Regions from separate parts of the Homo sapiens genome. Here all the other regions are linked to region 4. The links are contacts of gene promoters, found by promoter capture Hi-C in blood cells and fetal thymus (Javierre and others, 2016). All regions are on one chromosome and are shown on one strand. The core of a region is centred on a gene start or on the middle of the fragment in contact, and the rest is flanking DNA. Distances in the headings are between cores, read along the strand shown.

Evidence for each region. The method cuts DNA at HindIII sites, captures the fragments that hold promoters and counts their contacts. A CHiCAGO score of 5 or more calls a contact.
Region 1: a fragment that was not itself captured here is called in contact with the fragment with the promoter of LINC02902 in region 4 in 8 of 17 cell types (total B cells, naive B cells, M1 macrophages and 5 more); the score reaches 34.9 in total B cells.
Region 2: a contact is called between a fragment that was not itself captured here and the fragment with the promoter of LINC02902 in region 4, in 1 of 17 cell types (total B cells). The highest score is 6.0, in total B cells.
Region 3: a fragment that was not itself captured here is called in contact with the fragment with the promoter of LINC02902 in region 4 in 6 of 17 cell types (total B cells, naive B cells, M0 macrophages and 3 more); the score reaches 15.2 in total B cells.
Region 5: a contact is called between a fragment that was not itself captured here and the fragment with the promoter of LINC02902 in region 4, in 8 of 17 cell types (total B cells, naive B cells, M1 macrophages and 5 more). The highest score is 30.7, in total B cells.
Region 6: a fragment that was not itself captured here is called in contact with the fragment with the promoter of LINC02902 in region 4 in 4 of 17 cell types (total B cells, naive B cells, M0 macrophages and 1 more); the score reaches 12.9 in total B cells.
Region 7: a contact is called between a fragment that was not itself captured here and the fragment with the promoter of LINC02902 in region 4, in 4 of 17 cell types (naive B cells, total B cells, M1 macrophages and 1 more). The highest score is 11.8, in naive B cells.

The regions. Positions count from the first base shown.
Region 1 is chr7:47,813,773-47,816,703 of GRCh38, reverse strand. It overlaps PKD1L1 (polycystin 1 like 1, transient receptor potential channel interacting), which reads left to right. Exons shown (of 57, transcript NM_138295.5): 47 at 1,247-1,370; 48 at 2,690-2,773. The region is part of intron 2 of PKD1L1-AS1 (PKD1L1 antisense RNA 1); the gene reads right to left. Among named protein-coding and RNA genes, the nearest start is that of PKD1L1-AS1, 20 kb to the right of the region's middle. The HindIII fragment of the contact is 986 bases long and covers 787-1,772 here.
Region 2 is chr7:47,894,171-47,897,221 of GRCh38, reverse strand. All of the region lies in intron 14 of PKD1L1 (polycystin 1 like 1, transient receptor potential channel interacting), which reads left to right. Among named protein-coding and RNA genes, the nearest start is that of PKD1L1, 53 kb to the left of the region's middle. RefSeq lists an enhancer at 1-521. The HindIII fragment of the contact is 2,832 bases long and covers 116-2,947 here.
Region 3 is chr7:47,428,637-47,431,559 of GRCh38, reverse strand. The region is part of intron 8 of TNS3 (tensin 3); the gene reads left to right. Among named protein-coding and RNA genes, the nearest start is that of SNORD151, 35 kb to the left of the region's middle. The HindIII fragment of the contact is 8,256 bases long and covers 1-2,923 here.
Region 4 is chr7:47,653,891-47,656,591 of GRCh38, reverse strand. LINC02902 (long intergenic non-protein coding RNA 2902) reads right to left here and starts at 1,348. Exons shown (of 3, transcript NR_171030.1): 1 at 1,244-1,348. The HindIII fragment of the contact is 4,908 bases long and covers 1-2,701 here.
Region 5 is chr7:47,481,916-47,484,924 of GRCh38, reverse strand. The region is part of intron 3 of TNS3 (tensin 3); the gene reads left to right. Among named protein-coding and RNA genes, the nearest start is that of SNORD151, 19 kb to the right of the region's middle. RefSeq lists an enhancer at 2,387-2,934. The HindIII fragment of the contact is 5,942 bases long and covers 1-3,009 here.
Region 6 is chr7:47,400,860-47,403,762 of GRCh38, reverse strand. TNS3 (tensin 3) reads left to right here. Exons shown (of 31, transcript NM_022748.12): 14 at 2,849-2,903. Among named protein-coding and RNA genes, the nearest start is that of SNORD151, 62 kb to the left of the region's middle. RefSeq lists enhancers at 125-633, 2,380-2,903. The HindIII fragment of the contact is 2,038 bases long and covers 361-2,398 here.
Region 7 is chr7:47,835,750-47,838,738 of GRCh38, reverse strand. It overlaps PKD1L1 (polycystin 1 like 1, transient receptor potential channel interacting), which reads left to right. Exons shown (of 57, transcript NM_138295.5): 37 at 1,645-1,818. Among named protein-coding and RNA genes, the nearest start is that of PKD1L1-AS1, 42 kb to the right of the region's middle. The HindIII fragment of the contact is 9,294 bases long and covers 1-2,989 here.

The DNA.
Region 1 (2,931 bases), core at 30-2,529, 160 kb before region 4:
TTCTTCTCACCTTATGACAAAATTCCTTTTCCTGAGAACTATTTTGGTCTCCCCTTTTTGTGGAGAGAAACCTGGATGAAACAGCCACATCAGAGCCATTTCTGTTTGCTGAGGGCATGTTGATGAGCACCCCATCCTTTCCATTCTTCAGTGACTCTTCATGGGAAGCTATGTATGAGAAAGTTTTTTAGAGTTAGGTGAGAGGTACTTTGCTTTCTCGTAGGAACACTTGATTTTATCCTTTTGCCTCTGGCTGTAGCTCAGAGCCAAATGGACACCCTGCTGCTGCCATGCACAGCCTTGGCCTGTGCATGTGGCTTTATAGCAGTGTCTGAGCAAACTAAAAATGATAAATTTCATTCATTTGATGTTATTTCAGTGCTCCCTTAAATCAGTTCCTTGGTGGAAAAATGAAGCATATCTATAAACATAATGAAGAAGTTAATTGGAAAGAAAACAGACTAGTGTTTGTGCCAACACTGCACTTCATCTATGTCTTCACATCTGCCACTCACAGGCATCTTGGGAGGCCAGTCACATGCTGCGCCCAGTCGGCAGTCAGTGCAGAGAGAGGACTGGGTCTTGGTCTGTGTGTCCCAGAGCCTCCCTTGTTTACCCTAGCCCCGGCGCTCCCTCTGCACCAGCCCTGTGGCCCCGACACCTTCCCACCCTTCAGGCTTGCGGAAGCCCTCGCCGTCCCCTCTGCCTTTAATACCCTCTCTCAGATGACCACGGGCTCCACCCTCACCTTCAGGTCTTTGCTAGACATCACCACCTACTGAAGCTTCCATGGCTGCTTGAACATCTGCTTACCCCACCACTTGCCTGTCTTTCCTGCTTTTTTTTTTTCCTCCTTCATATTTGTCACAACATAGTATATGTTTGCTTATTTGTCTTATTTGTTGCCTGTTTCCCCATAGGAGGGCAGAGAATTGATTTTCTGTTTCCCAGTGCCTAGAAGAGTGCCTGACACCTAGTAGTTGCATAGTAATGTTTGTTGAGTGACTGATGGAGTGAGCAAATGAACAAGTGCTTCACCCGCCATTCTCTCTTATCTCCTGCTACTAAGGAGCAAAGTGAGTTCCAGGGTTTCATGCTTCACGCTGCAAGCAGCTTGAGTTTAATTCCTGCAGAGTACCTGAAATCTGAATGAGAGAAAAATTGGCAAGAAAACATGCTTTTGTTCTCACGTTTCATTGTTCTTGTTGATGCAGAAGCAACTTTTTATTTTTGTTCTTGCATTAAGAAATGCCAGAAACTGCTTGGGTGGCCTGAGAAACATCGCTGACTGGTGGGACTGGAGTCTGACCACACTTCTGGATGGCCTGTACCCGGGAGGCACCCCGTCAGCCCGTGTGCCGGGGGCTCAGGTGAGCTTTCCGTCTCCTCTTCATAGGAGATCATCTCAGAAAAGCTATCTTGCAGTGGGTGAAACAGTCACTAATGCTGAACTGCAGCACTGCATAGGTTCTTGAATGACCATGCAGGTGTAAGGCCGGTGGCTCTCCAGTGGGTCCCAGCAGAGCATCCTGTTCCTTTCCTGCCAGAACCCATTGGCCCCATCCCATTACACCCTGCTGAGCTGCACGGGATTCTCCAGATTCCTGTGCTTCCCAGGCCTGAGATAGACACAAGGGCTATGGCAGAGCCTCAGGAGCCCTCAGGCTGATGGGGTGGGAGGTCAGGAAATGGAAGATTCTAGTTCCGTGTGCAAAATACCCTGACAAGGAAACACAAGAACCACCCCAAAACAGAGGAAGTGCAAGGAAGCTTCCAGAAAGAGGTGAGGTTGATCCCAAGTTCGGAAGAAAAAGTTAATATGCATTTTGCATAATCCCATTCCTTGCTCAGCTTTTATTTTCAACCCCTTTCCCATGTTTAAAAATGAAATATCCTGGGCGCGGTGGCTCACACCTGTAATCCCAGCACTTTGGGAAGCTGAGGCAGGTGGATCACGAGGTCAGGAGTTCGAGACCAGCCTGGCCAACATGGGGAAACCCTGTCTCTACTAAAAATACAAAAGTTAGCTGTGTGTGGTGGCGCGTGCCTATAATCCCAGCTACTTGCAAGGCTGAGGCAGAATTGCTTGAACCTGAGAGGTGGAGGTTGAAGTGAGCCAAGATCATGCCACTGCACTCCAGACTAAAAATACAAAAATTAGCCGCGCGTGGTGGCACATGCCTGTAATCCTAGCTACTTGGGAGGCTGAGGCAGGAGAATTGCTTGAACCCGGTGGGTGGAGATTGCAGTGAGCTCAGGTCACACCACTGCACTCCAGCCTGGGCAACAGAGCTATTCTCTGTCTTTAAATTTAAAAAAGAGAAATATATTTGTCCATATTCCTTGAGCAGTTTATTTATAATTTTATTTTGTTGTATTCTATATAGTCTCTTGGGTTGATGACACTGGAGAAACTTTCAAAAAAGATAAAAGAGAGCATTCTCATGTGACGAAAGTTACGAACACCATTTGAACGTTAACCCTTTTCCAGGACAAGTCTGGGGAGGTTGTTGCTGCCTTCTTAGAATGTTGGTTGTATCCCTAAAATGGTATTGGAAGGAAAATAAAACTCTGACCTCTATGGTAGCAGGTGGAGTTACCCAGAGCCCCACGCCTTTTGAGCACGCTTGATGAGGAGGTTTGAAGTCCACAGCACACCCAGTCCTCATCATCTTTTTTCTCCTTTCAGCCTGGAGCTCTTGGAGGAAAATGCTACCTAATAGGCAGTTCCGTAATTAGGCAGCTAAAAGTTTTTCCTAGGCATTTATGCAAGGTAAGATGTTCCTTTTCCTTTTGCTTCCAAGAATAAATGGAATTAGAGAAGTCTAGGCAACATTGGGGCAGGACCCTGGCAGATCATTTGAACTTCTCTGTGAGTTCAGTGGTAATTGGAATTGTCAGTGCCGGGGCTGGGGAGAGGGCGAGCCTCGC
Region 2 (3,051 bases), core at 282-2,781, 240 kb before region 4:
CTTGCCACAAAGCTCCTCGGCACCCAAACTGCCCTGACCTTGCCTGAGGAAGCAAATCCTCCCAATCTGTGCTGGGATGTCACAGCGATGGCAAATGCTGGAGTTGCCAGAAGCTTCCTCTCAGTGTCTGTACTTATCTCATCGCGAAATAGGCAGGTAACGATGGGCCAAGTGACAACAGGCTGCAGACCAGGCTTAGCATAGCATTACTTCAGATGCAGGTTGTAGGAAAAAGCAGAGCTTTCCCAGCAGGCTGTATACTCTTCTTTAGAAATGTTGATTGGGAACGAGTAGGAAACAGACTGAAGGATGGGATGTTGGGAGAGTGTTAGTGAAGGTGAGAAGTCATTAGAGGCTGAAGCAGGGGGCAGCTGGGGAATAGAGAGCAGAGCAGGGTCAATGTCAGGGGACCTCGGGGTGGTGGGGAGCATCTGACCTGATGGGTGGCTAATTGTAAGAAGCCAAGGGGAAATGCAAAGGAAAATCTGTAATACTGAACGAGTGGAGGAGGGTGAGGCTGCTCTTCATTTTCCTAATGAAAACAGCACTATTTGTACCTGGCTGTGTGCTGGGGGGAGGGATTTGGAGATAAATAAGGTCTTTGCACACTTGTGTGAACAACCTAGTAGGGGAGGTAGATAGAGCCTGTAAACTAAAAATAAAATCCTAAGTCCCCCCCAAACAACTAAACAAATCCCCTCTTGGCCAAGGGGACCCAGAAAATACTTAAAAAATGGAGTTCCTGGCCATAATGGGACTCAAGGTCAGATATGCCTCATTACGCCCCCTCCCTTTCACAGTTTAGACACAACAACTGACCAACATTAATGTTAAAATAGTGATTATAAGACTGACAGAACGGACTCCTTTTTTTTTTTTTTTTTTTTTTTTTGAGACAGGGTCTCACTCTGTTGCCCAGGCTGGAGTGCAGTGGCTGCAATCTCGGCTCACTGCAACCTCTCCCTCCTGGGCTCAAGTGATCCTTCTGCCTCAGCCTCCTGAGTAGCTGGGACTACATGTGCATACCACCATGCCTGGCTAATTTTTTGTAGAGACAGGGTTTCACCCTGTTGCACAGGCTGCTCTCGAACTCCTGGGCTCAAGCAATTTGCCTGCCTCAGCCTCCCAAAGTGCTGGGATTATAGGCGTGAGCCATCACGCCTGGCCAGGACATACTCTTTATGACAATAAGATACCAAATTATAAACAAGACCTAAGGCCAGGCAAGAGTGAAATCACACAGTCCTACAATTAAAAAATAAGCTGTTCTCATTGCCACAGGATTTTTCTCCCCTTTTCTCTATCAACTAAACAAACACTAGCCTTAAAATAAACAGTATTAAAACAATTACAACTCTACAACCACCAAACATCAACTAATTAACCCCCCATTCCTCAAGCCTTAACTATGACTTTAATTAAACAAAAAACTAATTTCTATAAATTTTTCCTAATAAAAAACACCAACCGTAAACTAATTCTGCCCAGTTTGACTACGCATTTAAGTGCCTTCATGTCCCTACTTTACCTTTTAACATAAAAGACCTAATTATAATACATTGCAATATTGTCTCCACCCAAAAGTAAACATAAAGCACATATATATGTTTACTTATTACACAAAAACACAATCCTCTTCCATAGATATCCATAACTCCTATATCCTGTGAATATGTGATAATGCATTCAACTGAAATTCCTCTTACCCCTCCCTCCCTCCTCCAAATACTTACTTTCAATTTCTTAGCCAGAGACTACACTTCCTGCTTACAGATTATAATCCCTTTCTTAAAAAATAAAACTCTGCTTTCTAAATATATAAACTACGTAATTTTTAAATTAAACCCAGCAAGCCATAGAAGATGTGTCCAGCCTATGGGACAGGCCAGGTAATGGGAGCTCCGAAGGAGGTTTGGCTATGAGCTGGGAGCCACTTCTGTAGTCTTCAGTGTCTTCACAGGGGGTCTGTGTCTTTCTCTAGGTCTTGGAGACCTTCTGACAGATAAGGTAACTTCTGCTGTCTCTGACCTCACAGTCAGAGCCTCAGGTTTCCTTTGCTCCTGAACAGCCCTGCATCTTCCCCAAGCAGCTTCCTGCTTGGTGCCTCCTCCAGCCTTTGTATATACTTGGAATATTCTCAGCAGCTCCTTGGAGCTGGAGAGGCTGAGCAAACAGAGGTTGAAGGTGGAAATGAGAGTTCTAATCCTACAGCTGTTCCGTTGTCTTTGGTCCTACTCAGGAGACTGATCAGCAGGGAACTGTGTGCATCTGAAGAAAATCTAGAGTGATCAAGGCTGAGACCCAGTGAAAGAATAGCAAGTATTAGACTGTATTTTTTCAAATTGCGTCAGTTTTTTTTTTTTTTTGACAGGGTCTCACTCTGTTGCCCAGGCTGGAGTGTAGTGGTGTGATCTCAGCTCACTGCAACCTCCCCCTCTGGGCTACTGGGTTCAAGCGATTCTTGTGCCTCTGCCTCCCATGTAGCTGGGATTACAGGCACATGCCACCACGCTCAGCTAATTTTTGTATTTTTAGTAGAGATGAGGTTTCACCGTGTTGCCCAGGCTGGTCTCAAACTCCTGAGTGCAAGCAGTCCACCCACCTCAGCCTCCCAAAGTGCTGGGATTACAGGCATGAACCACCGCGCCTGGCCGCATCAAACTTGTAAAAGAACAATATGAATGTTTTATTTATAACATGTTCTGCTATTCCTGGGTTTAAAAGTATTTGTCTTAAATTTCATTTACATTTCCTAAAGTCCATGATATGTTTGGGGGTTAGAAAGAAGCAGCTCTAAGATAGGTGAAGGAAGTTGCACAAAAGCCAGGAGCCTGAACAATTCACTGTGGAGGGAGGAGGTTTGAAAACTATAAAATGTGCACACATGGAAAGTCTCTATTGTGTTCACAAGCTAGGAAATGCCCAAATTTGTACATTAACACAAGCTTGGATAGGAAGATGTCCATGGTCTCGTGGACTCCAGTCACAGCTCTCATGTCGTACAGTAGAGTGGTTATTTTGACTACCAAGACTGTTTTAGTTGGAGCCAGG
Region 3 (2,923 bases), core at 201-2,700, 230 kb after region 4:
GTGCAGTGGCGTGATCTCGGCTCACTGCAACCTCCAACTCCCAGGTTCAAGTGATTCTCCTGCCTCAGCCTCCCTAGTAGCTGGGATTACAGGCACGTGCCACCACACCCAGCTAATTTTTGTATTTTTAATAGAGATGGGGTTTCACCATGTTGGCCAGGAAGGTCTTGATCTCCTGACCTCGTGATCCACCCACCTCGGCCTCCCAAAGCGCTGGGATTACAGGCATGAGCCACCGCGCCCTGCCTGACATTAGGTTTTTTTATTTGAGAGTTTTTTGTCTTTTAACATAGGCATTTATTGCCATAAACCTTCCTCTTACAACTGCTTTTGCTGCATCCCATAAGTTTTGGTGTGTTGTGTTTCAATTTTTGTTTCTCCCAAGATATTTCTAAATCTCTCTTCTGACTTTTTTTCTTTGACCCAGTAGTTATTTAGGAGTATGTTGTTTTATTTCCATAAACTTGTGAATTTTCCAAGATTCTTCCTGTTATTGATTTCTAGTTTCATACCACTATGGTCAGAAATGATACTTGAGGCCAGGCGCGGTGGCTCATGCCTGTGATCCCAGCACTTTGGGAGGCCAAGGCGGGCAGATCACCTGAGGTCAGGAGTTCGAGACCAGCCTGGCCAACATGGCAAAACTCCGTCTCTACTAAAAATACAAAAAAATTAGCTGGGTGTGGTGGCATGCACCTGTATTCCCAGCTACTCGGGAGGCTGAGGCACGAGAATCGCTTGAACCCAGGCGGTGGAGGTTGTAGTGAGCTGAGATCATGCCACTGCACTCTAACCTGGATGACAGAGGGAGACTCCATTAAAAAAAAAAAAAGAAAAAATACTGAATATGATTTCAGTCTCCTTAAATTCGTTAAGGTTTGTTTTGTGGCCTAACATGCCATCTATGCTGGAGAACTTTCTGTGTGCACTTCAGAAGAATGCGTATTCTGATGCAATGTTCTGTATATGTCTGTAAGGTCTATTTGGTCTAAAGTGCAGGTTGAGTACCCTGTTTTCTTACTGGTTTTCTGTCTAGGTGATCTGTCCATTGTTGAAAATGGGGTACTGAAGTCCCGTACGGTTGTGGTATTTCTATCTGTCCCTTCAGATCTTTTAATATTTGCTTTATAGGCCGGGTGCAGTGGCTCATGCCTGTAATCCCAGCACTTTGGGAGGCCGAGGCGGGGGGATCACCTGACATCGGGAGTTCGAGATCAGCCTGACTAACATGGAGCAAGCCCGTCTCTATTAAAAATACAAAAAATTAGCCGGGCATGGTGATGCATGCCTGTAATTCCAGCTACTTGGGAGGCTGAGGCAGGATAATCGCTTGAACTCGGGAGGTGGAGGTTGCCGTGAGCCAAGATCGTTCCATTGCACTCCAGCCTGGGCAACAAGAGCGAAACTCTGTCTCAAAAAAAAAAAAAAGAAAAGAAAAGAAAAGAAAAGAAATACTTGCTTTATACATCCATAAATAGTGCCACAAAAGTGATTGATAATGGGGTGAATGTCACCACCATGTGTGCCTGTTTTGGCTGAGGTGTTGTTTCTTTGTAGGTGAATTGCTGTCAAATATAGTTTTATGCAAGAGGTATACTAGTAGCCATACCATTAATAATTGCACGTGCCAGGATTCAGCTGCAAAGAGTGTATCAAGTGCCCGCATTGAGTATCTATAAGGCATGCTCTTGACTTTCACTGACAGAGAGAAGGATGCTCCTGGGTGACTTTCATGTATGACTGGGCTTATCAGAATTGTGACTTGAATTTGATCAGTAGTTTCTTCTCAAGAAGTTAGGGAGCTACATATTAGAGGCCCTGCCTTTTTGGCTTTATATGATTCCAGATCAGGGGTTGGCAAATATTTTTAAAAACAGCCAGATTAGGCCGGGTGCGGTGGCTCACGCCTGTAGTCCCATAGTCCCAGCACTTTGGGAGGCCGAGGCTGGTGGATCACAAGGTCAGGAGATCGAGACCATCCTGGCTAACATGGTGAAACCCCATCTCTACTAAAAATACAAAAAATTAGCTGGGTATGGTGGCGGGCGCCTGTAGTCCCAGCTACTTGGGAGGCTGAGGCAGGAGAATGGCGTGAACCCGGGAGGCGGAGCTTACAGTGAGCCGAGATTGTGCCACTGCACTCCAGCCTGGGGGACAGAGCGTGAGACTCCGTCTCCAAAAAAAAAAGAGCCAGATTGTATTTTACACTTTTCAGTCCCCGTGGTCTTGCTGCAAATACTCAAACCTACCCCTGCAGTGAGAGTGAAAGCAGCCCTGGATGTAGGTAAACAGATGGGAGTGGCCATGTTCTAGTCAAACTTTGTGTTTGGACACTGAAATCTGAACTTCAACACATTTTCACATGGCATGGAATCTTATCTTTTCAAAATTTTTTCTTAATAGTTAGAAAATGTAAAACTAACTCTTAGCTCACAAGTTGTGGGAAAGTAGGTAATGGGCAGAAGTAGCTCCTGGGCTGTGGTTTGCAATCTGCTGTTGTAGGTTGTAAGAGTATGTTCTAGAAGGTGGCACTCTGTGGCCCTGGGTGAAGGTGGCCTGTCCAATAGTTTCTGCTTCTCCTGCTGGTGTTGCTGGTCTGTGGGCTGGGCTGTTGGTGTCTGTGGTTATGGTTTGAGTGAGTCCTTTTCCAGAACTTCTGCCTGGGACAGTGGTTCCTTTATGTGTAATGAGGGTGGGCTGCGGCGGTGTATGTGGAGCTCAGGTGCCGGCAGTGCTGCCAGTAAGCTGGAATCTATGTCCCATCATGCTGAGCTGTGTTTGCAGCCCTGATCATTGTCAGCCCGTGAGCAGGCAGGCGTTCACTTCTGTCTGACCTGGATAATTAAGTCATGCTAATTGCTGCAGCTCCTGGCACAGTTTTTTCCAGCCTAATTGGGTAAAATGACAGGCAGCTGCTGTGTTG
Region 4 (2,701 bases), core at 99-2,598:
CCTGTGTCTTCACATGACAGAAGGGGTGAGTGAGCTCTAAGAGCACTTATCCCATCACGCAAGTCGAGCACTGAGAAGCTATGCAGTCCCTGAAGGCCCACTCCTGGACAGAAATCTCCGTGTTTCTCTTTGTTCTGGTCTTGACTGAATCTAAACAAGTGAAAGGCAGTTCTTGAGCCTGTGTAACCCCCTAACCTGGCCCAAGTTCCAAACACACCTGGATCTTCGCCTTTTTCATCTGTTAATTGTGGCCAATAAAAATACCTTCCTTGGCCGGACGCGGTGGCTCACGCCTGTAATCCCGGCACTTTGGGAGGCCGAGGCGGGCGGATCATGAGGTCAGGAGATCGAGACCATCCTGGCTAACACGATGAAACCCCATCTCTACTAAAAATACAAAAAATTAGCCGGGCGTGGTGGTGGGCACCTGTAGTCCCAGCTACTCGGGAGGCTGAGGCAGGAGAATGGTGTGAACCCGGGAGGCGGAGGTTGCAGTGAGCCGAGATCGCGCCGCTGCACTCCAGCCTGGGCTACAGAGCGAGACTCCGTCTCAAAAGAAAAAAAAAAACTTCCTCCCAGGTTTTAGTCGTTTTTTCCCCGGCACCCCTGCTTGCCACGTGGTAAATGTTCAATACAACTAATATCAATAATGACTCAAGTTTATTGATTACCACCTCTCTCTTTCCTCCATGGAGTGCTTACTGGGAGGATGGAGTCTCTTGGGGTGCGTGGCTTTCCCATACATCAGCATCAGCCATCGCGAGACCCCACGGGCCAGCAGTGTGGACGGGGAGACAAGTGAGGCCTCCCAGCCAGAACAGCTCAGCCTGCCAGGAGAAGCAGAAACCCCCCAAAGTAATCACTTCTCGAGTGCCTTCGAGACCCCAGATGTTGGGAAAACAACTATTTTCCCTTGTGTAAGACATGGCCAGTTTCTTTCCATCTCCTAAACAAATCAAATACAACCCTGAGCCCTCCTCCTTCCAGCCTGGCAGAAAATCCAGCCTTGACATTCTGTGGACTCTCTCTGCCCCACAGGGAGTTACCAAAGCCCTGGGAGCTTTTTCAAATTTTGATGGATAGCAAACATTTTAAAAAAAGACAAAAAATCAAATTATCATGAAGTGGACACGCCCATGTAACCACTTCCCAGGTCCAGAAAGAACAACAGTCATCCAGGACCACCCCCACATCCCTCCCAGCATCCACACCTCCCAGGCCCCACAAAGACCACTGTCCTGACCGCTGCCTCCCTCCCTGGGGCCCGGCCAGAGCCGTCTTCCTTCTGTTGACTCTGTTGGTGCCATCCTCATCCCACTGCCCGGGTGACTCGTCTGCCAAATGCAAGAATCGAATGGGGAGAGGAGTCTAGCGTACCCCCTGAACCCTGAGCCCCAAAGCAGGAGTTTTAGCCACATAGCTTTGGGTTTTCCCAGGATCCCTCGGGTGCCTGGGGCGCAGGATGCCAGGGTATAGGAGCTCTGCTCTCATGACGGGTGAATCCCCTGGTTCTCCTGTAAGTGCAGAGATGCTAGGGTAGTTCCCACACTCAAATATTCCCCGAGCCAGGGCTGGGCGCCTGTGGGAATCCCAGCAATCCTACAGTTTCACTGAAGTCCTATAATTTCCCGTACCCTGCCTCTATTTCAGGGACCTGCTGCTCAGAATGTGGAAATGCAGATGTGGTTTGCTTGTGTTGCCATTGTTCTCGTGAGCTGTAAGGCAGTGATTACAGGCTCCGTGGGCGGCAGGGAGCAGCCAACTGGATTGACGGCACATTCTTAGCTTATTTTAAAATCAGTAACAGCATTAATAAAAATCCTGTGCCTTCCCATTTACTTTTTCTTCCAAAAGAAAAAATACTGTACTTCCTAGCAGTCTGTGGCTGGAGTGGGAAGAAAGGAGAAATCATTTGAAAGTGTGAGGAATATCAGAGGAAATTTTAGAAAGGACCCTAGGCCATCTCTAGCTTTCTCATAGCAGTGACCCTGTTCCTCCCCCCAGATTGGGACACTTTAATTTTTTTTTTTTTTTTCAAGACAAAGGAGTCTCGCTCTGTTGCCCAGGCTGGAGTACAGTGGTGTGATCTCGGCTCATTGCAACCTCCACCTCCCAGGTTCAAGCAATTCTTGTGTCTCAGCCTCCTGAGTAGCTGGGATTACAGGTGTGTGCCAGGACACCCAGCTAAGTTTTTGGTATTTTTAGTAGAGAAAGGGTTTCACTGTGTTGGCCAGCCTGGTCTCGAACCTGTAACTTCAAGTGGTCAGCCCACCTCGGCCTACCAAAGTGCTGGGATTACATGCGTGAGCCACCGGCCCGGATGATTCACTTCTTAATAAATCATCCAACCCAATGATTTGGTTCCAAAAGAAACAGATAACATTCAAACACTGTTTCCTCTAGTTCATACTGTAAGACAATGTATTTTAGATACATTTTGCTTGAAATCCACAAACTTGTCAAATACCCACCTGGGTAGAGGAGGACAGCAGAACTGAAGGGCAAGAGGGCTCAGCCAGACTTCCCTCCCCGAGCTCCCGGGAGAAGGTTAATCACTTCGATCTAAACCAGGCAGGGCAGAGACCTAGGAGGCAGGAAGTCAGTTTAAAGGATGTGACATTGGCATTTGCCCAGCGGGTGATGGGAGAGGGAGGTTGAGGTCGTAACACTTCATTTTCATTCTGCATCTTACAAAGACTCC
Region 5 (3,009 bases), core at 204-2,703, 170 kb after region 4:
GAAGTGTTAGCTTCTTTGTGCCGAGGAAGGCCAAGCCCACCTGGAGTTGGCCCCGACCCACGGTGCTTCCCTCTGTCCAGTGAAAACAGTGAAAGAACCCCACAGTGCTGGGGAATGTGTGATCAGAGCTGGAGTTTGAGGTGAGGAGAGCAAGCAGGTGTGCCTTACTCCCTTACCTGGCTCCATCCACAGGAGATACCCTCCTGATGCATGGGAGGCAGGGCAGCCTGTAGATCAGTGGAGAGCTGTGTGCGCTCCAGCAGGGATGCAGCTCTGTGCACGGAAGCACTGTGCTTCTGCCTCTGCTAAGGCTGAAGAACAGCAAGTGACACTTGACTGTCCAGCAAATGCAGCTGATAGCACCGTCGCACAGTCCCCATAGGTTCCTTGGTGCTGAGCAGGCCGGTATGAGCATCCCCAGCCCGGCCGCCTCATCCTGTGGTTCTGTCTGTGGTCAGCTTACCTGCCTTAGTATAAGGGAGGAAAAGTGTGACGGAAATACAGTCTCTTTTCAGGGACTTCCTGTCCTGGAATCTGGTTTTAGCCACATTGAAAGAACAAGTGCCCTCTGTGTTCACTTGGTCATGGTTTTTGCTAAATGAGATGTTTGTACTTATAGAAATGATGAGTTTTCTCTTTATCAACAGGTGACTCTTTGCTTCTAGAATGTCCCTTTTTCTCTGGTTGGTGCTCCATGTGCATTTTTATTTGCAAATCCACTCCCACAAAAGGTCTTTCCTGAGACATTTTTGTCTGCATTTTGTAACAGCACATGTGCAAACAGACAGTAGGGCCTGTGACTGGTTCTCTTGGAAGAGAGGAGCAAGTTCAGTAGGATGCGAATGTGGAGGCTCAGGGCAAGGCTGCCTGCCATTTGCTCTGCAGAACCTGGGGGCTGCTCGCCCCCTACTGTTCCCCAGCTCACTTTCTTAAAAACGATTCATTTTATGCAGTTTCTATTACGTGAGCCGTAAGCTCTGTGGGGTTAGGGACCAGTCTGCTTCATTTCCAAGTGAAGTCCTGGCAGGAGAAGGCTGTCAGTGAAAATGTGCAGCACAAGTGATGGATGGAGTTCGACAAGATTGGGCGTGCCAACTTATCGCGCGAGCCGGTTAGCCATATAAGCCGTGGATGGTCTGGGGTGAGATGGGACTCGGGCAGTCCCGGCTTACAGAGCTCACCTCTCCTTTTCTGTAGGACACCCTGGGGCCAGGCCAGGTGGTGGGCCGTTATTGCACCCCATCTGGCCACAGAGGGATGTGGGAACACACAGACCTGGCTTCTGGACCAAATCCTTAAGTGGCTGCCGTCTTTAAAACTCAAGTTTCTGACATTGCACAAGGCTTTTCTTTTCATTGTCTCAACAAACGTGTGCTTCCAGAGAGTGAATTTAAAAAATGTATTATAGACTGTATTTTTAAGAGAGTTTTAGATTTATACAAAAATCAGACACTCAGGCCAGGTATGGTGGCTCACGCCTGTAATCCCAGTACTTTGGGAGGCCGAGGTGGGTGGATCATGAGGTCAGGAGATCGAGACTATCCTGGCTCACACAGTGAAACCCCATCTCTACTAAAAATACAAAAAATTAGCCAGGCGTGGTGGCGGGCGCCTGTAGTCCCAGCTACTCGAGAGGCTGAGGCAGGAGAATGGCGTGAACCCGGGAGGCGGAGCTTGCAGTGAGCCAAGATCGTGCCACTGCACTCTAGCCTGGGTGACAGAGTGAGACTCCGTCTCAAAAAAAAAAAAAAAATTGGACACACTCTTCTTCCTCTTCATATATAAACATTTTCCATTCCTGTGGTACATTTGTTACACTTGATTAGCCAATATTGATACAGTCTTAGTAACCAGAGCCCTCGGTTTACATTAGGATTCTCTCCTGGTGTTGTACATTCTGTGGGTTTAGACAAATGCAGAATGACGTGCGTCCATCCTTATAGTGTCAAGCAGAATAGCTTCATGGCCCTAAAGAGTCTCTGTGCTCTGCCTGTTCCTCTCTCCCTCCTAATCCCTGGCTTTCACTGACCTTTTCACTGTCCCATAGTTTTGCCTTTTCCAGAATGTCACAGAGTTGAAATCATACAGTATGTGGCCTTTTCAGAGTGGCTTCTTTCACTTAGTAATATGCATTTAAGTTTCCTCTTTGTGTTTTCCTGCCTTCATAGCTCATTTTTTTTTTCATCATGCTTGACATGCCATTGCAGGAATGCTGATAGTGAGTTTGAAAGGCAGGGGCCCTGATTCTTCGCACATTTCTTGCCTGCATGTCACATGTGGAGTGAGGCAACAAGATGCATGTGTGCACTGAGTAGATACCATGCTTGAGGGGAGATAAGTCACACCGCTCTGTTAACCATGGGGTCTCCTTGTCCGGCTGTTTCCGCCATCCTGTAAGGTTTTGTCTGTGACTCCTTCTGTTTCCAAAGCTGTTTTTGTTTTGTTTTGCTTTACATTTATTTGTTTACTTATTCTCTCATCCATTCATCAAACTTTAAAGGGGCCCTGAGAGAGGACCCCTGCCCCAGACATCCGTCTGAGTCAGAGCCATGGTGGAGTAATGATGTGTCCCAGACACAGGAACGGCCATGTGTCACATACTCCCTGAGGACTGGACTGCGTAAGATAAGCAAGAGGCTATAAATAGTTATCCTGGTAAAAGCCAAGATTACGCCGCCGCCCACTCCAAACCACAAGTACAATTAGTCAGATCTCTGAGATTCTCTACGATTCTCCTTCGGTTGCACATTTTCAGAAAACTCTTTGAGAAGGCAGGTGCCAGGGATCTGGAGGGGGCAGTGCCAGGAGAAAGCTAAGGAGTGAGGTCACTCACCAGGAACTGAATCCTGTTTGCTGGCGCCTGGCTCCTGAGCGGCCCCCCAGAGCAGCGCAATGCCTGCCTGGCTCCCTTAGCCCCTGCCCTGTGCCACTCTTCTGAGCTCCTCACGCGCCATCTCTTAATTCTCACCATGACCCTGCCCGGAAGGCACTATTGTTACCTGCAGTTTT
Region 6 (2,903 bases), core at 130-2,629, 250 kb after region 4:
ATTTTGTCTCAAGATCTGACCTGCTGTGTTGATGGTGGTTGCTGGGAGCCCCGAGTTAGGGAAAATCCTGTGGTTTTCCGTGTCTTTCAGAAGAAGCTGGAGTCAGTTCATGATTTGGTCAGGAGGACTGGGGAGGGTGGTGTTTACCTCCATTAATCAAGAGGAAAGAGGTTTAATATGAAACAGGGATTGTGTATGATGAGGCCGTTAGGATCTCAAGCCAGCAAACAAAGTTAGCATTAAAATACACAGAGAAACCCCTGAAGGGAGGGCCACGTGATTTCAGGCAGCAGTTGTTCTCTGCCAGTGGGATAGACCGCTCTTTCTTTCACTGTGGAGCCTTAGGAGTATTTGAAAGCTTGTGCTGTGAAAAATAGGAATCTTACAGGAGAATCATATGGGGCCTGGAGAGGAACCTGTTTGGGACAGGCCGATTCCCATCTCCTGCCACTCTGTACCTCCTGGGCACCGTGGCCTGCCTTCTCCTCCCTTCTGGTATGTGGAGGGAGCTGGGATTGCTGCGGGAGGAGCAGTGTGTTTGTGTGTAGCTGCTATGAGGAGCAGTGGGGGGACCTGGGGGAGCATCCTGGATTCCTGAAGAGGGAGGGCAGGACCTGGCCTGGAAGGAGGCCCTGCGCTGGGCGGGGCGGTACTGACGGGAGGGGCACGGTGAGCTGCGGTTGGGGATATTCCACTGTGCCCCTTATGTGGCCCGTACTGGAGCCCACAGCTCCCTCTGTTTTCACCCAGGACACTCCCTGCCTGCCAGGACTGAGCCCACAGCTGCCTCCTGAGGAGTTTCCTGACTCCTGTGGGCAAATGTTGGCGCCCATGGCAGCACAGGCTGCGTGAGCTATCAGCTGACATCGTGTTGTTGTTTTTATTTTTTTAAATCTCTGGTTCCCTTAAATATTTATAAAATTTGAGAGCAAGACTGGCTTGAATTGGGGCATCTCTTTTCCTTTTCCCTTCCCTAACCACTTTTCACTCCCCATTTGCAAGGCACTAGTGGAGGCAGACAGGCACATTTGAAGGCAGACAGGGAAAGGTGGGTGCTATCATCTCTATCAATGGGGGTGCATGTGTGGATTTACCCTTGGCCAGAAGGACCTCCCTCTGGGGATCTCTACAATATGCCCCAGGTTGAAGCATTTGATGGGTGGTCAGTGTAGTGAGTGTGGGGCATGGGGAGCTCAAAGGAGGGGCCCAGATACTCTCAGAACATCCTGGAAGGATCCCTGCAAGGGCAGCCTTTGATTGAGTCTTGCTGAGAAGTCAGTCTCGGACAGAGGTGGTAGATTTGTGGCCAACGTGCCATTGGCTGTTGGAAAGCAAATTGAGGCAACATTTCTTCACAATGCCAGTTTTCTACTTGCAAACGCCCTGGTTCCTGGGCCCCTGGAGGCCAGGCCTGAGTCTGAGCCCCATGTTTACAGCACCGCTGGCCAGCGCCAGGCCGTACAAGGGAGACCCAGTCATGTTTGTCAACAGGGAACATCCTTCCACAGTCTTAATTATATTTTTTTGGTTTATTTACCCGTCCCTTTCCTTGTAGATAGCACAAAGGTAAACATCTTCTGGGTCTGCCTGGAGTCACAGCTCCCTGCCTCCTGGGCTGGGTTTCTGGGCTTTTTGTTCCTCTGGTGGATGTTCATCTGGTTAGGGAAGACCCTCCCTGCAGAATTCTCCCGCATGCTGGTCCGGATCATACCTGCTGCGGTGGCTTCTCATTTACTGTTGTGAGGCATGTGATATTTTAAAGCCATCTTTCTCCAAGAAAAGTCTCTTTTATGGGAACGTGGCTGTCTCTGGTAGTCACTACCCCACAGCCTCGGGGTTGGGGAGGTACCTGCCTGTGCACGATTTGGTCTGAGAGCAGAATCCAGCCTGTCCAGGGCCTTCGGCCTTCTGGGGATTTGGGAAAGTGCCACTACCTGGTGGTCCTGCCCCTGATCTCTGAGTGAGGGGTATCCCTGTCCCTGCAGCTCCCCCAGCTGTGGCCTGAGAACCCTTCCAATGATGCCAGTGCTGCGCACGGTCACAAGAAGCAGGGGGGACCTAGTTATACAGGCAGGTCAGGACACTCAGGCTCCTGCTCTGCCCACCGTTCCCCACATGCCAAGCATCTGCAAGGAGGGGCTTGCTCTACCCTTTGGCTCATTGGCACAATCATTTAGGGTGCTTGAGCTGCACCCTGGGGACCTCATGAACCCCAGCTTGAGTTCAGATCACATCAGGGTGATTCTGAACACTTGTCTAAATGCCAACACCCTCTCTGTCTCCCTCTCTCCCTTCCTCCTTCTTTGTATCTCTGTCTCTAAATTACAGCATGCACATAATCATTTAGGATAGTACACACAGTAATGACCGGCTGCTGCTTTTTGGAAAACAAAAAGCTTTAAGTTGCAACATGGAGCATTGAGATCAAAGAAAAGCTATCACAATCAGTTGTTAAAGTCTAGAAAAAAGAGACCATGGAATTCTATTTTTCGGATGTGTTCCAAAACAGGGCACATTCACGTGGTCTGAAAGGGTTTAGGTGTGGCCTCTCTGAGGACTAGCGATAGTGGTGTTCAGAGCTGCGGTTCCACAGGAGCAGCACAGGGAACACATTGAAGCCTCCAGTGGAGCCCCGCACCCAGCAGCAGCAGTGTGGTGCCTCTGCCTGCACCCCAGCTGTCTGCAGGCGCCTGTGCCCCAGGGCTGAAGTTCCACTCCAAAGCGTGAACTCCCAGCCAGAGTCCAGAGGGGAGGCCCTGCTGTGCCGGCCTCCGCGGAGTGTGTTCCTTGCCGGGAACGTGTGTCCCCCGCTGCAGCTACTTTGTTTTGTTTTGTCTCTCTAACCCAGGTGAAATGCTACCACAAGAAATACCGCTCGGCCACCCGTGACGTCATTTTCCGCC
Region 7 (2,989 bases), core at 32-2,531, 180 kb before region 4:
GCCCGGCTAATTTTTGTATTTTTAGTAGAGATGGGGTTTCACCATGTTGGCCAGATTGGTCTTGATCTCTTGATCTTGTGATCCTCCTGCCTCGGACTCCCAAAGTGCTGGGATTACAGGCATGAGCCAACACACCTAGCTGCATTTTGCACTTTCTTATTCAACATTTTAGAGTAGGTCTCTTCATGAATTTTTAAAACATCATTTCAGGGCTATATAGTGGCCCACTGTGCATGACCATTTGCTGAAGACCTGTTGGGCATTTATAACTTTCTTTCATTTATTATGGTAATGACAACATTGTGGGAACTTTCATGTGTGACTCTGTGTCCCTGATGAGTACTTCCTGAAGCTGGGTCTCAAACAGTGGTAAAAGCCCAGTGAACTCAGACAGTCCCCAGTGTCGCCGGACCTTGCCAGGCCACTGGGCTTTCTTTCCAACCCGCCCTGTTGCCACCTGCGTTGATGAGAGGCCCAGGCTCAAGGCCTTGGCATTTTCAGGCCTGACATATTGCTAAGCTAGTAAGAAACATGATCACAAAGGATTTGAAACAAGTTTTCAATCAGCCACAGCATGTGGAAATTCTTCAACATCTAAAACTGAAGGTCCATTCAACTGGGGCTTCCTCTTAGACGACTGTTTCCATGTGAGAATGACTGTTTGGCTGAGGAACCATAGTTAACAACGGGAGACATACGTTGCTTATCCTCCAGCTGTTGTGCTTGAGAGCTTTTTGTGAGAAATGTAGGCTTATTAATTTAGTCACGTATGAGCACTTGTGTGTGCTGCGAATTGAGCGTTGCTTGTTGGCTAGTTTATTTACATAAAGAAGATATATTCTCATTCTGTTAGTACGATTTTTCTGGCATTCGCTTCTGTGCTCTGCTCATATTCCATAAGAGCAGTTCTGTATATACTTTTGTTTTTTCTAGAACAATATTGAGCCCCACGCATTATTTAAATTGAATTGGAACTTAAAATTTAGTGCAATTCCTAAACAACGTATCTCCCACTGTGTGCCAGACACTGTGGGCTACTGAGGACAGAGGTGGAGGTGACTCAGCCCCACTCTCAGTGTACTCAAAGCCCAGTTGAAATTAACTATGTTGCCAGGGAAAGTTCTGAGAGTGGAGGGGTTTTTGAAAGTCTCTTAGGAATATGAAGGAGAACCAAGGAGAGACTGATCAGAAGCTCTGGAGAGAAGGTCTCCTGAGGCTGGGAGTGAAGGCATTTGAGACCCATGCAGGTGAAGCTCGGAGAAGCATGTGCCAAAGCTCAGGAGGTGCCAGAGGAAGGCCAGGTGAGCCAGAGTCCAGCGTGATAGCAGTGTGGCTGTAGCAAGGGGGCTGCCAAGAAGGCTGAAGGAGGAGCAGCTTCAAGAGGCTTAGAATGAGGTACTGTTCACCTGCACCCACAGCCCACCTAGTACCCAGCTAACCAGCCAGGATAGCAGAGCCAGAGAGTGTGGGGAGTGCAGTGCTGTCTACCTGCACCACAGCCCACCTGGTACACAGCTAAGCAGCTAGGATGGAAGAACCAGAAAGCTCGTGGTCTCTGCTCAGAAGATCACTGCTTAACAGTACTTTGCTTTGCTGACAGAAATGCTCCATGTCAGGGAACACTTCTCCTGCTTTCCGTTTCAGCTTTTCTATTGCAAGTTCACAGAGTACCTGGAGGATTTCCATGTCTGGCTGTCGGTGTACAGCAGGCCCTCCTCCAGCCGCTACCTGCACACGCCGCGCCTCACCGTGTCCTTCTCCCTGCTGTGCGTCTACGCGTGTCTCACTGCCCTGGTTGCTGCTGGAGGGCAAGAGCAGGTGAGAGCCATCGCTTTTCCTTATAGCAGCTTCCAGATCCGACTACACTGTGGCCCCTTTTTGCCTAAGAAATCAACAAAGCTCACAGTTCTCCGAGAAAAGTTTAAACCAGGGGAAGCAAGCCTGGCTGCCTGGGGACCAGAGAAGGAACAGGAGGGCTCTGCCCGGTGTGGCACTGGGTGGCCCTGCACAGCTCTGACTCTGCTGGCTCGGTGGACAGCTGCTGTGTGGGAGCTCGTGCCCAGGCCCAGCAGCAGAACTTTTCCAGAGAGGCTGGCAGCCGGTTGTCTTTGAGAACACTCTTGAATTTTTTTTTAAGTTGGCAATTCATTTAGATTTTAAATAAATCCTCTGGACAAAAGAACGTAGAACCATTCTGATGGCCACATTTTCCCTCAAGATGCCAGTTTGCACTGGCAACTCTGGTCTGATTGTTCCTCATGAGATGTAGTAAATTACTTCCAAATCAGTGTCAGCAGTTAAAATGGAGACCCTCTCTTTCCTGAGGAAAAAACAACACAGCAGGACGTGGACTGAGGCAAAACTGACTTGTTTACTACGACAACATCATGGCCATTCATGCACCCAGCCCACCGGGTTCACCGCTGGGTCGTAGTGTGGCTGCAGAATGTGGTGACAAGGTCCGTTTCCGAGGTGGGGGTCAGCGACCCATCCATGGGACAGCCGGGCATAGTGGCTCCTTTATGACACCAGGTATCAGAGAGATCCAATAACAATTATGGATTGGTGGGATTAAAAAAATAACAGCGCACAGAATTTGTAAAAAGAGGATAAAGAAATATCATCAAGTAGCAGGAAGGGAACAGCTCCGTCCACCTGGAAATAGACCAGGGCCTGTGGTGAGGAAACCTACGGTCGGCCTCTTCTTTGAAGCCGACATGTTGTCTGATGTTGGACCACTAACCACTTTTCTCTGTTCATTGGTACCTTGTGGGTTGATGCCTTGCTGGATTGTAGCCATGATTCCATCCATGGAGCACATGCCTGGTAGAGAGTGGGTGCTCGGCAAGCATTTGTTCAATCCAAAACGATTTGTATAAGAAGAAACAAAATGATTTCTTGTGTTTTTTTCACTCCTGGGGTAGAAGAAGCCTTTGCTGGATTCCTTCTGCTTGTATCCATCATATCAGTTCTATATATAGTTCTATTT